2 separate regions of the Homo sapiens genome follow, and region 1 is linked to region 2. The links are contacts of gene promoters, found by promoter capture Hi-C in blood cells and fetal thymus (Javierre and others, 2016). All regions are on one chromosome and are shown on one strand. The core of a region is centred on a gene start or on the middle of the fragment in contact, and the rest is flanking DNA. Distances in the headings are between cores, read along the strand shown. Region 1 overlaps FAM20B (FAM20B glycosaminoglycan xylosylkinase). Region 2 holds the start of TEX35 (testis expressed 35).

Region 1 (2,700 bases), core at 85-2,584, 540 kb before region 2:
ACTATATGATCCAGAAATCACACTCCTTGGTATTTACCCAAAAGAGCTGAAAACTTATGTCAATACAAAAAGCTATACACAGATGTTTATGGCAGCTTTATTCACAACTGCCCAAACATGGAAGCAACCAAGATGCCATTCAATAGGTAAATGGATAAACTGTGGTACATCAGACAATGGAACATTAGTCAGCAATAACAAGAAATGATAAATCAAGCCATGCATGAAAAGACATGGAGGAATCTTAAATGTGTATTATTAAGTGAAAGAAACCACTCTGAAAAAGCTATATACTGTGATTCAACTATGTAACATTCTGGAAAAGGCAAAATTATGCAGACAGTAAAAAGATCAGTAGTTGCAAGGGGATTGGAGAGAGGGGTGGAGAATGATGAATAGGTGGAACATAGAGGATTTTTAGATCAGTGAAAATACTCTGTGTGATACTATAATGATGTATACATGTCATTATATATTTGTCCAAACCCACAGAATGTGCAACACCAAGAGTGAATGGGAATGTAAACTATGGAGTCTGGGTGATTATGATGTGTCAGTGTGGACTCATCAATTGTAACAACTGTACCACTGTGATGTGAGATGTTGATAATGGGGGAAACTATGCATGTGACGGGCAGCGGTTATTTGGGAAATCTCTGTACCTTCCTCTCAGTTTTGCTGTGAACCTAAAGCTGCTCTAAAAACAATAAAGTCTAAAAACACAACAATAACAACAAGGTTATGCTAAGGTCAGACGATTATTAAGAACTTTACCTCCAGCCAAATCCCTCTACCTATTACTTTCCAGTCTTTATGCCCTTGTTCTCATTAATATTCCCATTATTTTGCCAATGCCCTTTCCTCTTTGCTGCCTTGGTAACTCATACTGGTTCTTCAATACTCAGTTCAAGTGTTAATAACCTCCTCTACAAATCCTCTGCTTTTCCCTTACCCACACTTCATACAATGTGTGAGTTGACCATCTGTGAGCCTTTGAAGAGCAGGTACCCTGGCTTCTTCTTCTTGGACTCTTTCCCTCAATCCCAGCACCCACCAGGAATTCATGCTTGCTAAACATAAAACTGAACAACCAAAGGTGATTAGAAAATATCTGAAACAAATATCTGATACAATATCTAACATTGTATGCTTTTGGTTATCTATAAGAAAAGTATAGCCCAAGCCTTATAAGTTGAAATTCTGAATGATGAATCTGTCATAAGTCCTTTAAATATTCAGTTTTTCCTCATTTTAAATGTAAATCCACTCACTCTAGCAAAAAAAAGCAAGGTGAAGTTCATCTTGCAATGTCTGTTTCAACAGTCATGCCCTAATGCAGAGCACTGTATCACTGAAAAAGAGTCAAGGTGAAGAGGTGGAAACAAGAAACCACCGCACTTTTGAATTCTTCCCATTCTCATCTTGCTCACAACAACAGGAGTGAGAATTTTAGCTCAGATCTCTTACCTCAGAGTTAAGATAATGGAAAACAGAGGCCAGGGGCAACATAGCCAGTTCCAGGCACAATGAGTTATAGGTTAACCCTTGCAGAAGGAGTAGGCCTGTTGATCTTCCAGGTCCAAATACAACCTTACAAAATAATTTCTGAGCCTCCTAAAGAGTTGCCTTAAGATTTCCTCAATTCTAAGGAGATGGGAGACAGTTCCTGAGGAAACATATTATATATGTAAAAACAACTGAGCCAATGATATACAAACAATAACCAATTTAGGCCAAATTCTGAGTTTGAGACTTACTAATAGCTCTAAGAGAAAGCAGAAGGAAATAATCACCTGCTTTCACCATCACTAAATGACCTCACTCCCTATGTCACAGACAACACAAAGTATACAGGAAAATTTCAATTTCCTGCCATCTCCTTTAGATTCATTTTCCCAAATAACCTGAGAGCTGGTTGTCTGATTTGCTTTTGTATTCCACTGAGTTCTTCAATTCCTAAAAGTCATGAGCCAGCTTGCTCAACAATGCCCCATTTTAACTTATTAATCATTCCCCTATATAAATGTCCTCTACAATCTTCTTACCTACAGTTAGGAAGGTGCTCAACAGCTGCTCTGTGGCGACAGGTTTGATCTCTGTCCGAAGATTAACAAATCTGCCAACTACCAAGGGGGCTCGGTGGAAACCCAGAATCCTGGTTTGGAAGATTGAAGAACAGAAGAGAAAAATCTTAGGGGATGTTTTTTAAGTAACAGTCTTAAAAATTACAGTTCATCATGTCAAATGTGTAAAGGGTTTTTAGCTAGTAGCTAAACCTAATTTTTTAGAGGTACATATATTTAGGAATTTAATGTGAAGGTGTGTATAATTTATTTTAATATACATTTCAGCAAAAAGAATAAGACAAATCTGATAAAATGTGAACACTTTTTAAATCTACAGAGTGGGTATATGGGCTCATTATACTATTCTTTCTACTTTTGTATGATAGAAATTTTTTCATAATAAAAATTAAAAATAGATTTTAGGAAAGTATTAGAAAAAAAATGGGACCCAAACTCATATATGGGTTCAAATCTTTAAATAAAACAGCATGTTGGTTAAAAAAAAAAAAGCAGACTGATCTAAAAGGCTAAGCCCACAGAGCAAATTAAATATAGAGACATTTGAAGATATCTCTAATAATCTAAAAGGTTGAAAACAATGATTTATTTTAAAAAAATGAAATTTCCTGGCTAA
Region 2 (2,700 bases), core at 181-2,680:
CTCTTTCAGCTCATCTTGTTCCACTCCCCTGCTGGCCCACGGGGCCTCAGCTCCTTTTGTCCCTTGAACAGCCAGGCTCATTCCCACCTTGGGCCTCAGTGCATGCTGCCTCCTCTGCCTAGAAGGCTCTTACTCTGCCTTTGCAAAGCCAGAGTCTTGTCCTTCAGCTCTCAGCTCAAAGGAAGGCCTTTCCCTACCACCCACTCCACGGCAGCCACTCAGACATGTCTCCCTGTCTTGATTCCCAGCAGAGCAGGTAACACTGCTGAATGAGTCCTTGTTCGTTTATGTATCTGATTGGTTACAGTGTGAAGTTCTATGAGAGCAAGAACTCTCAGTGCATCCCCCAGCACCTGGGACAAATCTTGGCCACTAGGATCAGCAAATGACCCCTGACTCCTGGTCACTTCCCCATGGATCTCAGGCCTGGCTGCCTGCATGGCCTCAAAAGGGCTTCTTACTTTGGTCGGCTCTGGCTTCAATTCCAGGCAAACTGCCTTGTAGTTCTTGCTCTGCAAAAAGAGGAGACTGAGATTCAGGCTGGCAGACATCAGGATTGGGGAGGAGAACATCTGGCCCTTGCACGGGAACCCTGCCCCCTGCCCCCCACAACCATGCAACCCTGCCTGTCCAACTGGCTTGAGCTCAGGCTCACAGACCCCGCAGCACCCGGATCCGATTCCTAACAAATCACATCTTGTCGTGCTGTCCTCTTCCTATGGGCGTGTGTCTGCCTATTTGGCAGGCAGCCCTCTCCCTGCTGGAGGCGCCAGCGTGGAGAAAGCACTTTAAGATAACTAGAAGCAAGCCCCGGAAGTGTTGTTTCCAGAGCAAGGGCTTTGGCCATAGGCAGATTTGCACTATAGTCTCAGCTGACCTCTCTACTATCTCTGTTATTTTGGGTGAGTTGCTTAGCCTCTCTGAGCCCCCATTTCCTCATCTATAAAATCGACGTGATGATTATATTTATCTAATAAGGTTATTCTGAGCCTTAGCCCTGCTGGTTAGATGTGGGCCTGGCAGGCCTGGCATGGGCCGTGGAACCATGAGTGGTCTTGGAGTAGGGAGTGCTCCCTTGGCAGTGCTCCTCATCCCCAGAGGGAGGCAGCAGAGGCCTCTTTCCTTCCCACCCCCAAGGCTAGGGATTAATCCCACACCCCTTCCAGACTGAGAGGCTGCTTTATGCTCAGTACAGAGAAAGAAAAACCAGAGATTCATGCGAGCATTCTCTGTATCCCTTGCCCCGACACCATCTCCATTCAGTAGGAGCTCAGAGAGGACCCACACTGTCCAGCAATGTCTCTCTTTTACCAGATGTGTTTTCTTCAATTCTGCCCTCTTGGCCGACATGATGGAGGAGGCCAGGGTGTTCTTCAACTCCCCACAACAGCCCCTGGGACCAGGCCACTGTCCTAGGCAACTTACAGGTCAAGGTGAGGGCAGGGTGACCACCCCTTTGTGTACGGAACAGCTGAGGTCACAATGCCAGGACCCACATGGTGGTCCAGAGCGTCACCACAGCTTCAGGCCTGGGGGGCTTCGGCCACTGAGATGAGGGGTTCAGGCCAGGTTTCAGAGTCCCACCAGGCCTCCCTCTTGCAACAGAAGGAAAGTCCACACTGAGGAGGATCATGGCCTGCTACGGTCGAAGTGCAAGGCACGCGTCAGAAGCAGTGGCTCCTTCTGCAGCAGGACTCACCTACTGACTCAGAAGGACGTCCTCCAGGGACAGCCAGCTCCTCCTCTGAGCGCACAGCCCATGTCCTCTGCTGTGCGCTCCTCGCGCGAACCGACCCCACCTCGGACCGGAAGCCACCTTGGGCTGGAGGATGCCATGAAGTCTCTCTGGTTCAACGTGCATGCACCGTCTCACTTAACCTGGGTTACTCTGTATGAGGTGGGGTAGCCAGTCTCAGCAGGATGGTTTCTGATGCCTCTGACCTCACACTGCCCCTGTCCCACAACCACCCCCAGACCCCTGCCCACCTAAAAATTCTCTTTTCCTAGTTCTTCTATCATCCGGGAAGAGGGTTGGGACAAGAAGCTAAAGATAAGAAGCTTTTCGGGCAAATGAAGAATACTAAAGAAAAGGCCATTCTGCGGGTAGCCATAGTTTGTGCTAAAGTAGACAGTCAGAGGAACATGGCACCCCATGGGATAAAAAATCACTGGGGATCTGGGTTGGTGAAATTGATTTCTCTTTTCCTCTTATCACTGGTCATTCACTTCCTTCTTCCCTCTCATTTCAACTGCTAGTTGCACAGAAAAGGCCAACATGGACATCTGAGGACAGACAGCACAGGAGTACAGGAACTAATGCAAATTGCATGTGAATGACATCCCCATGCAGGCCACTACTGACCACACTTACCCTCCCATTTCACACACCTGCTTGGGACTATCCTTCCTGGAGGCCACTGGAACTTCTGGAGCCACCTGCAGCACTTCTGATGCATTTCCTAGGTGGTGATTTCCCAGCCCTGACACTGGTGACAGCTGTGGGTCTTACTCCACCATAGCCAGAGGAGAATGTGTCTGCCACTGCATCAGCGGAAGGAGAGGGAGTTGGGGGTGGTCACCAGCTTCCCAGGCTTCACTTTCCCCACTTATAAATGAGGGGCTGGAACTTTTCAGTTTCCTTGGACCTTTTAATTCAGCCCTCTCAGATCTGATGGCCTCGTGGTAGGAATGCCCTTCCTC

What was found. The method cuts DNA at HindIII sites, captures the fragments that hold promoters and counts their contacts. A CHiCAGO score of 5 or more calls a contact.
Region 1: a fragment that was not itself captured here is called in contact with the fragment with the promoter of TEX35 in region 2 in 1 of 17 cell types (total B cells); the score reaches 5.3 in total B cells.

What each region holds. Positions count from the first base shown.
Region 1 is chr1:179,053,984-179,056,683 of GRCh38, reverse strand. It overlaps FAM20B (FAM20B glycosaminoglycan xylosylkinase), which reads right to left. Exons shown (of 8, transcript NM_014864.4): 4 at 2,046-2,155. Among named protein-coding and RNA genes, the nearest start is that of TOR3A, 27 kb to the left of the region's middle. The HindIII fragment of the contact is 5,323 bases long and covers 1-2,700 here.
Region 2 is chr1:178,511,839-178,514,538 of GRCh38, reverse strand. It overlaps TEX35 (testis expressed 35), which reads right to left and starts at 1,430. Exons shown (of 9, transcript NM_032126.5): 1 at 1,312-1,430; 2 at 462-512. The coding sequence starts at 1,350. LOC101928866 (a long non-coding RNA gene) reads left to right here and starts at 1,489. Exons shown (of 6, transcript XR_001738307.2): 1 at 1,489-1,897; 2 at 2,257-2,463. The HindIII fragment of the contact is 3,272 bases long and covers 1-2,060 here.